Regions from separate parts of the Homo sapiens genome. Here region 1 is linked to region 2. The links are contacts of gene promoters, found by promoter capture Hi-C in human tissues and cell types (Jung and others, 2019). All regions are on one chromosome and are shown on one strand. Each heading gives the region's core, a stretch centred on a gene start or on the middle of the fragment in contact. The rest is flanking DNA. Distances are from core to core; before and after follow the strand shown. Region 1 overlaps TMEM217B (transmembrane protein 217B). Region 2 holds the start of BRPF3 (bromodomain and PHD finger containing 3).

The links. Contacts are between HindIII fragments. The study calls those that stand out against the background at their distance.
Region 1: a contact is called between a fragment that was not itself captured here and the fragment with the promoter of BRPF3 in region 2, in 1 of the 25 tissues and cell types used here (aorta).

Annotation. Positions count from the first base shown.
Region 1 is chr6:37,237,917-37,242,939 of GRCh38, forward strand. All of the region lies in intron 1 of TMEM217B (transmembrane protein 217B), which reads right to left. All of the region lies in intron 1 of TMEM217 (transmembrane protein 217), which reads right to left. Among named protein-coding and RNA genes, the nearest start is that of TBC1D22B, 17 kb to the right of the region's middle. RefSeq lists an enhancer at 2,277-2,571. The HindIII fragment of the contact is 5,344 bases long and covers 752-5,023 here.
Region 2 is chr6:36,192,796-36,198,198 of GRCh38, forward strand. It overlaps BRPF3 (bromodomain and PHD finger containing 3), which reads left to right and starts at 3,949. Exons shown (of 13, transcript NM_015695.3): 1 at 3,949-4,175. BRPF3-AS1 (BRPF3 antisense RNA 1) reads right to left here and starts at 4,408. Exons shown (of 3, transcript NR_187147.1): 1 at 3,242-4,408. RefSeq lists a silencer at 3,564-4,303 and an enhancer at 4,654-4,703. The HindIII fragment of the contact is 7,678 bases long and covers 2,488-5,403 here.

The DNA of each region.
Region 1 (5,023 bases), core at 2,174-4,673, 1.0 Mb after region 2:
GATGATGATCACCTTGGCCAGGGGAGGAAGTAAAATGTGTTGGGGGTACCATACAGCCAGATGCAAATTGCTGACCAGACACTAATTTTATTTTGGACAGGGGATTTGAAGGTGTCTATATATTATTTACAATAACTAATATTTAAAAAGTAAACAAAAGAGAGCCATGCATGGACCAATGAGGGTATGTCATGAACCAGGGATTATGATCAATCTAATTGTATGTATATAAAGTAGAATTAAAAACACTGAAAAAAAAAAACCAAGGATAGTAACATTTACCTCACAAAATTGCTGTGAAGATTAAATGAGTTAACATATTTAAAACATTCAGAACAGTTCCTGGCACATAGTAAGCACTTACACAATATAATTATGTAAGTATTTTTGTTATCATTATTTTTACTTTATGCCAAGGAGTAGCTACTATTTATTATGCATATAAAACTACTATTTATTAAGCTGTGTTGTAGCAGACACCGTTAGCTTCCTTCCCAATACCTATTTCCACCTTCTTTGCTACCAGAAGTCTGCTTTCTCTCAGGATGGCAATGAGCCCAGACCCAGGCAAAATATGTGCTTTTCCAGGTTTTTGCTTGTATCCAGGGTGTTCATGGCACACAGTTCTAGCAAATGACATATAAGCAGAAACCTGCTGGAAGATCTAGGAAGACTTTTGCCTTTCCTGGTAAGAGAAGATGATGTGGCTGGCACCATTCTCACTTCTTCCTTTTTCTTGCCTTGAATGTGGTGTGATGCCTGCAGCCTCAGCAGCTATTTTGTTACTGAAGCAACAAGCATGAAGACAAAAACAAGTAGGCTAAGGATGCCAACATGAAAGGGAGAGACTTACTTTTTACATTTTATTGGTTACTCTTGAGGTTGAGTATTCTTCTAAGTATTGATATATGATTTTAAAAAATCTATGTCTAGGCTGGGCATGGTGGCTCACGCCTGTAATCCCAGCAGTTTAGGAGGCCAAGGCAGGCAGATCACCTGAAGTCAGGAGTTCAAGACCAGCCAGCCAACAGGGTGAAACCCTGTCTCTACTAAAAATACAAAAATTAGCCAGGCATGTTGGCACATGCCTGTAATCCCAGCTACTAGGGAGGCTGAGGCATGAGAATCACTTGAACCTAAGAGGTGGAGAGGTTGCAGTGAGCCGAGATCATGCCACTGCACTCCAGCCTGGGTGACACAGACTCTGTCTCCAAAACAAAAACAAAAGCCGTATGTCTAAATAAGTATTAAAAATTATTTTGATAAGCATACAATAAAAATTCAGTCATGGGCTGGGCACAGTGGCTCATGCCTATAATTCCAGCAGTTTGGGAGGCCAAGGTGGGCATATCACTTGAGCCCAGGAGTTTGAGACTAGCCTGGGCAAGATGGCAAAAACCCATCTCTACAAAACATACAAAAATTAGCTGGGCTTGGTGGCCACGCCTGTAGTCCCAGCTACTTGGGAGGACTGCTTGAGCCCAGGAGGCCGAGGCTGCAGTGAACCATGATCGTGCCACTGAACTCCAGTCTGGGTGACAGAGCAAGACTCTGTCTTAAAAAATAAATAAATAAATAAATAAATAAATAAGTAAATAAAATTCTAAGATATGAGAAAGCATTGAAGCATAGTGTAATTAATGATATTTGTATTTCAGTGGTACCTAAGATAATGATGCATTTTGCAGTTGACGGCACCTTAGATTTACTCAATCATGGTAAGAACTTTTTATTTTCAATTGCTCTCATCAAGTTGACTTGTGATCTCAGTAGAATATGTTGCTGCCAACTCATTTCAGATGGATCTCTTGCAACACTGGGTTAGGGAGGAAAATAACAATGACAACGAACACATTATAAAGCTTTAGAGCCTAATTCATCTATATCGGTTAAGATCCTCCCCTTAAATAGGAGGATCACTTAAGCCCAGGGGTTTCAGACCAGCCTGGGCAACATGGTGAGACCCCAGCTCATTAAAAAAAAAAAAAAAGAAGAATGCATTTGGCTGCAAGGAACAGAGACTCAAACAATAGTAGTTTAAACAACTAGAAATTTATTTTCTTCTTCTAACAGGAAATCTGGCAGTGGCAGCCTAGCACTTGGTCAGTAGCCTCTGGGTAATGTGTCTGGGTGGCTAAGAAGAGGCGAGACAGAAAACTGCTGGGACTTTTTAAAGCCTTTAAGTATGTGTGACTGTTTTGCCCTCTGAACTCTTGTATTAGTCACTATTGCTCTGTAACAAATTACCTCAAACCTTAGACACTTATGATATAAAACATTTATTATCTCATAATTTCCATGAGTCAGGAATCCAAGAGTAGCGTAGGTGGGTGGTTCTGGTTCAAGGTTTCTCACAGGGCTGCTGTCAAGCTGTTGGCCTGGGCTGGGGGCCATCTAAAGGCTCTACTTGTGGGAGGGAAGTTTCATCCAAGCTCGCTCTCTCTGACTGTTGGCAGGAAGCCACAGTTCTTTCTTGGCTGTTGGCCAGAGAACTCAGTTCCTCACCTCCTGGGCCTTTCTATAGTCCACTTGAATTTCCTCATGACATGGCCACTGGCTTCCCCCAGAGTAAGTGATGAGAGAGAGAGAGAGAGAGACCAAAATGGAAGCTGCACTGTCTTAGTAATCTCAGAAGTGATATCCATCACTTCAGCTATTTAATTGGTCACACTCACTGACCCTGCAGGGGACTATGGGGAGAGGACAACATAAGGGTGTAAATACCAGGAGGCCAGGATTATTGAGGCAAACTTGAGGCCGGCTATCACATCTCTATGTATGTATACATGTATGTGTGTGTATTTGAGAAACATGATTAATTTAAAACAGAAAAATAAATTTAAAAAAAGACATAAAAACAAAACATCAAATGGTTGTTACTAATTCACTCTTCCATCAAAAATATATGTACCTATCTGTTTTAGCACACATTTGCTATCATTTGGTATTACTATTTTAAGATTCTATTTTGATTTATTCTCTTCATTTAACCTAGTAGTAGGTGAAAATATTTTAATTTTTGTATCTTATTGATTATTCCTAAGGTTGAACATTTATGAAGTATTTGTTAACCAGTTTTACTGACCTTTTTGCAAGTTATGTCTTTACTTAATATATTAATGTATCAGGATATTAGCATTTTTTCAATGTGCATGAGTTCTATATATAATAAAAGTATTACTCTTTTTTTTTTTTTTTTTGAGACAGGGTCTTGCTCTGTCTCCCAGGCTGGAGTGTAGTGGCACAATCTTGGCTCACTGCACCTTTGACCTCCTGGGCCCCAGTCTCCCAAGTAGTTAGAACTACAGCTGCGTGACACCATACCTGGTTAATTTTTTTTTTTTAGAAACGGGGTCTCACTATGTTGCCCAGGCTAAAGGTGTTACTCTTTGTCAAAGAAAAAAAAGGTGGCTGTCTACGTGGTGGGGAATATGAAGACCCTTCACTCCTCAGCGGCAGAGCTCCAAGGAGGGAAGCAGGACCTCAAAAGCGACATCTCAGCATTGTACCTGGAGAGGGGACTGGACCCTGAGCACTAGGGATTCTGTCTTCCCTCCTCCAACCTCAGTAAGGATTCCTACAACTCATGTGCGGCTAGAAGCAGGTGCTGGCAGGATCCAAGGTCCCCATTCTTGGGCTGGCATGAGGCAGCTGTCAGCACCCCCAGTGATGCTACAGGTTTTCTGTTCCAGGTTCTACATCTGGATTCTGGGTCATCCCTGGGAGCCAGAGGGATCCCCAGTGATAAGAGAGATTGAATTTTTTTCTAGTCTGGCAATATCCAGGCCAATTTAATTAGATTTTTAAAATACAAATGGACATTTTGTATATATATAAGCTTGAATTCTTAGAGACATACATTCTATATTTTCTTATTTAAAACTCCATTAACTTTTTAAAAAAGTTATTGAGATAATTTATGACCTCTTCTCACTCCTTTTCCTTGGCTTTGTATGTAACCGTGTAAATTTGCACTGTAACTAAACACTAACACAAGAGATGGCTTTATCGCGTTGTCTTTATTTTCAAAAAGTAATATGAAGTCTGTTTTGGCCTGCTTCCTCAGGGAGTTAGGGAAAAATTCGATCTCAATTTTTTTTTTTTTTTTTTTGCCTGCTCTTTCCCTGCCCCTTGATGGAGTCACATAGAACCCCCTGAGTTCACCCAATCTTGGAATCTGAGGGAAGAGTTCTAGACTTCAAGACAGTGTGGTCACTGTGAAGGGCTTGATGTCCAGACTTCAGTGGTCCCACTGCTCATAGCCCTGGAGACTATGGCTTAGAGCTCAGTCCCCAGCCAAGTGTCCACTCAGCTAACCCATCAAACATTCTGCCACTCTGGGGTCTGGGAGAGAGTCAAACACAGGCCCCCACGGTGGGCAGAACCTGTACCTCTCTATTCCCCCCAAGGGAAGGAAATTCCACATGCTGTAGAAAGCTGGGAACCATTCTATTCACCCTCAACTTTTCAAATCAGCACTCCCTACTCATCCATATCATCTAGATCTTTTCTTTGCCTTTAAGAGCCTAGATTTTCCAAAACAAAAGTTCTTTAACTCTCTGAGTGGGGAAGAGATGGGCAGTCTTCTTAAGCCTACAAAGAGAAAAGCCTGTCATGCTTTGGTGGTGAATCAGCTGACAAACAGGGAAACCAGCCCCAGCTTGGAATGAGGTAATTCTGACAGTAAATCACACTACTTCATACAAAGCCCTCATGATCTGACTGGGACCCAACTTTCCAGGGGTATTGCTAAGCATTCCTTCTCATGTATCTAATACTCCCACTTCCTCAAATATTTTTTCTCCCCTTCTTCACCTGCTCATCTCTCAAGGTATTCAGATCCTTAAAAAGGTGTCAGGGCTCTAGGTTGGCATCTGTAATTCCTTTGGCCTTACTTTTGTGGTCATAAGCTGACTGCCCCAGTGACTCACACCAGTATCCCAGGCAGGAGTGTGCCAGTAAGCTCTCTTCCATGTTTGTCTCTTTCATAGGAAGTAAAACATTTCCCAGAAAACCCCTAGCA
Region 2 (5,403 bases), core at 2,699-5,198:
GTAAGTTGATAAATAAGATATGGTGTGCATATTGGACCTAGTTTGTACATGTACCTACTACCCCATTGTACAATCTTCTCCTGCTCATGTCCTCTGGTTTTAGGAGTTGATACATGACAAGCAGCATGTCCCTCTGGCCACAGTTATTGGCTCAGGATGGCTGAGAAATTGCAAGATACAGTATGCTGATGACATAATTCGAGTCCTTTGACTCGATCTTGTCTATAGCTAGATGCACCCCTGGACTTTCTGGTTATGAGAGTTTATTTCCTTTATTAAACTCACTTAAGTTGGTTTTCTGCTAACTGCAACAAAGATCTTTAATAAATGGAGTATATAAAGCACTAAGCACAGTACCTTGTACATAAGTGTTAGGTATTATTTTTATTATCCCTGTCCCCTTGCCATACCTCCTACCCAATTCAATCTTTTTCTTATCATCTGCCCATACATACCAGCTAGGATAATTTCCGCATTATTCCCTGCATATTTTCCCTTTGCCTGGACTGTCCTGTCACCAACCCAATGTCACTTTACACTCTTTTCACCAGTTCACATCCATCATGATTTAGAACTTGGCTTAAAGAAGTCTCCCATTCTCCAAGAAGCCTTCTTTGAATAATGGTGGCTCCATACTCTTCACTGCCTTATCTATTTTTTCTTGTATGTGTTTTCTACTTATTTCTACCATTCTGGATTGCACACTACTCAAGGCAAGAAAAAATATATTCTATCTATACTTATGATCATTAGTCCCTTTCTAGGTTGAGATTTTGTCATTATTTTCCAAAGAACTTGTGCAGTATTAGACACACTCTAAGTGGTCAATGAATACGTTTTAGAAATACATAAATGGAATTAAATCTAGAGAGTGTGGTATGTTACTCTATTTAAGACCTGTTGTTAACCTAGCTAAACTTTTCCCATTTTCCAAGCAAACTTTACATTCTTAAACCATTTTAATTAGTGTAAAAGTATCGGCCGGGCGCGGTGGCTCACGCCTGTAATCCCAGCACTTTGGGAGGCCGAGGCGGGCGGATCACGAGGTCAGGAGATCGAGACCATCCCGGCTAAAACGGTGAAACCCCGTCTCTACTAAAAATACAAAAAATTAGCTGGGCGTAGTGGCGGGCGCCTGTAGTCCCAGCTACTTGGGAGGCTGAGGCAGGAGAATGGCTTGAACCCGGGAGGCGGAGCTTGCAGTGAGCCGAGATCCCGCCACTGCACTCCAGCCTGGGCGACAGAGCAAGACTCCGTCTCAAAAAAAAAAAAAAAAAAAAAAAAAGTATCACAATGATTCCAACCTCAAACATTCCTCCCAACTGTGGTTTCAGAATTCTTTTAGTCAAGTATCTAAGGAAGGAATATTCTATTAAAAATAATTTAACAATCAATCAAGGCCTATTTTTTTCCTTATCATCCACGTTATTAATCCAGTGGGTACTGCGTCTGACCCCTGAGAGGTTTCTTGGCCTGATAAACTAATGACAATAGTGAAGCATTAACAAAGATATCCTGAGATGCTGAAAAAAAGTATGATGGGGAAGTATGAAAGAAAGAGGTGGGGAAATGGTGATTTTTTTTTGTATTCATGTTTCTTTTAGTTTTAAATGGTAAAACCTTCTCCTATCCCAAATAAGTTGGTTTCTACTTACAGCTGGAAGGTTCTTAAAAACAACTATTTGGAATCAAAGATCCATGCCTCTGTTTGTTGAATTTAATTGCTGTATGGTTTATTGGAAAGGCCAGGGGTGGTGAATTTAAACCGTTTAAAATAGCAAACGATTAAAGTGAATTAAATTTAGTGCCTCTGAGATTTTTGATATATGTTCCAAATTTGTTTTTAATAACATAATTGTTCCATGTTACATTTAAGATTCCATCACAGGGAACTGGTTACGTGTGCAGTTATGCTTGTAGAAACCAATTCCAAATGTCAAAAATTAAAGTGAGGGCAACTGTAATGATATCATTAAAAAAGTAGAAGTTGAAAATGGAAGAGAAACACTTAGGTTGAATAAGGTCTTAATATGAAAGCTTTGAATAGAAAAACCTGAAAAAAATCACATGCATTAGGTTGACTTAAGGCCTTTTCAACAGCATTTAAATCGTTGACTTACAAGTAGAAACCAATGCATTTTCTCAAGGTATTTATTCATTCATTTTAGTGGAAAAAGATAGCTCCTGATCACGCAAATGGGAATTGTGCTAAATAAATTTTGAGAACATCCATCAAGAAATAAAAGTTACTAGTCATATGTATAAATGATTATTATATTTCATGTTTTAATAGTTTCTGTTAGTTTTCAGACTTTTTTTTTCTTAACTACAAGTACTGTAATTGCAATATTTTCTTGCCTCTGGGGCTTTCTCTTCCACAATTAATCATCTTTTTCTTCCACACCTTCCCTCCAAATGATTATTCCCCCTAGCTTCAGAACACTTGACATTAATTCATACTATTTCATCTTCACAGCTTTCAAAACATTGTCCTGCCCTTGCTTAGCTCCACGAGCCACCCCCCTTGCATTTAAAAAATTGGTTAACAGAAGCATTTTTGTACTATCTCTTTGCCAGAAGATGCTATTTACTTGGAAACAAATTAGCTTCCTTAATCAAACTTTTGAATTTGAAACTCTCTATATTTAAATTCCTTAGTATAACATCTATACTTCCAAAGTAGCAGTATGTTCACTTTAAACATTCAGAAAATTTGGATCCTAAGACTTTATCCTTCATCCTTCTGACTCTAGAATACATGTCCTTGATCATCAGAACCAAGAAAGAAATTGAGTCTCACCAGCTACACCACAAGTGCCAGCAGAGGAAACACTTTCAAACTGTCACTCACCTTCACATTTACAGGCAGCTTATCCATACGTCCTTTATAAACATCATTATGTATTGGTGCTTAAGACTTCAGTCACATGAGGTAAGCTTTCCAGTTTACAGGCAAAAGGGGGTGGCAATGGAGCCCTTTTCTTTATTTTTTTGTTTTTTTAGATCAAAACAAAAGCCAGTTTGGTCTGATGCTGCCATTTGTCAAGCATCTTTTAGAAAGCCGCCTAATGCATTAAATTAACCAAGTCAGGTTTAAAGTGTTTCCCATGCCCACAGTGACAGACGAGTTACCAGGCATGCTTAAGCAGACTGTCAAACTTTTGTTTACTCCTTTTAAACGGAAAGTCAGATTTTTTTTTTTTTTTTTTAAAAGATGTGTGGTGCGGAACAAGACGCTCACCTGTACACAACAAAGGCAGGTCTTTCCCGGCTGTCCTCACTGGGGGAGGGGATGGACAATCGCTAGACCTTTGTCCTCAGGTCCTGGGCATGGGGGTTAGGGGAGACGCGACTTTCTGGGAGTCGTGCAGGCACCTGCAGTCAAGAAACTACATATTGGTTTTGACCTCAATGACTGCCCTGGCTTAACCTTTGGAGAGGCCCTTTAGTTCGGGGAGGGGGCTTGCTGCTCCAAACCGTAGCCACGTCACCCACAAGGACTGGGGAGGAAATGACTGACCGCTCAAGAGTCAGGGACCCCTGTCTCTCCCAACTAGACCCGAACGTCCACAGCCCTCTTATCGGGCTCGCCCCGTGGCGGGCAGGGCCGTGGTGCGCAGGGATCGCGGCGGGCGCAGACCCGGTCTCTTGCTCGGTGTCCCCGCCGCGCCCGCACCGCCACCGTGAGGCCGAGCCGGGGATGGTGCCCCGTGGCGGCGGCGGCGGCGCCTCCGCGCTCCTCTCCGCACCGCCCCGGCCGCCGCCGCGCCAGGCACGGGCGGGGGGATTTTTTTCCCGTTTCCCCCTCTTTCGCGCTCTCGCTCCTGTTCAGCGGGAGAGCCCGCAGAGTCAGGGAGGGAGCGAGGGAAGGGGTGGAGGTGGCGGGGGGAGGCCGGAGGGGCGGATCCTGCCTGGGGGCTGATCCCTCCCTCCCCTCGGCCGGGCTCCGTGGCGGCAGCGGCAGCAGCGGCGGCTCCATTCCCCCTCCTCCCCCGGGAGCGGCGGCGGCGGCCGGGCCGGGGCCCCAGCGCGGGCCGGGAGGGGGCACGGCGGAGGCCACGGAGGCAGGCGCGGGAGAAGACCGCGCTCCGCTTCCCGGGCCGCGCCGACCTGCTCGGCGGCCTGCCCGCCCGCGCCCAGGGGCCCCGAACGGTGGGGCCGGGCAGGCGGCTGAGGTAATGGGGGCGGCAGCGGGGCCGGACAGAGCGGGGGCGGGGGCATCGGGGCCTTCGGGGACCAGGGACTGCACGGGGGGAAACCGGAGAAGCGGGGGGCTTTCCGAGCAGGGCGGGGGCGGTGCGAAAGCTCTCTCCTGGAGCGAGGGCGGCGGCAGGGAAGGAGAAGGCGGGTGAGCGGGGGAGCTGAGAAGCGAGGACCCCCTCCCGCAGCCGCCATCTTGTCTCCCCCCCCAGCCCTGGATTCCGAGCCGCTAAGCCCCGCCCCCGCCACGCCTTCCAATTGGCCTGGCCAGACGAGAGTCCCGCCCCTTGAGCGGCCCTAGGTCCCCTGGGTCCCTCTGACGGGCAGGTGACGCAGCCAATGGGTTCTCGCCTCTCCGCCCCGCTCATTCGCTGGCGCTCGCTTTCTCTGTCTGAGGGTCGGACTCCACGTCAGGCTGTCTCTGGTGCGCTCGCCCCTCCCCTCTGAGGAGATGTTATTTCCCTCCTTTCTTCTCCGAGGGGTCAAGATTCTTCTGGAAGAGGTGCCCCCTTAAAGGAGCAGGAGCCTTGGCTGGGGTCCTCCTTGTCTCCTGAGTATCTTGTGTGAGGTGCAGGGGATACAGTCTAATTGCAGAAGCTCCTCATTCTTCGGGGACCTGGATGGGGTGGGTGAGCGAGGGGTCAGGGGGTGCCGAGGGGAAATCTGGGGGGGCGGGGGTTGTTGGAGATATTTTGGAGGTGTGTATGTGGGAAGGGCTGTGTAGGTTGAGAAACTCCCGCCAAAAAACTCGTCTAGACTGTAAGCTCCTTGTGGGCGAAACTCTTTTCATTTCCCTCATCAGCAGTCCCTTCCCCCTCTAGAGTTTCTCCCCGGTGTCTGGAGGCGTGGGTGGGACAAAACACGTCTGTGTAGAGTCTTGCATGGTCGAGAGATGCTTGAGCAGCCGAGGAGGTGGCAGGTGGGGAAGGAGAAGATGGAGCGGCTTTCATGAAAGTGGGCGCCGCACCGCCTGTCTGCGCTGTTTGGGGTCGGTGTGGAGGCAGATGTTCTCACCTCTTCTAGGGCCTCGGTGCCTTTGGAGGGGTGGGTGATGAAGCAGGTCTGTTGGCCCTGTCTGCCCCCAGGGACTTGGCATTTGTAAGGAATCCAGTAGCCAAGGGCCTCTGGAACCCGGACAGAATTGCTGCGATGATTCTGTTTCCTTTGGCTCCAAATGGGGTGTGTGCCAGCCCGCCTGGCACT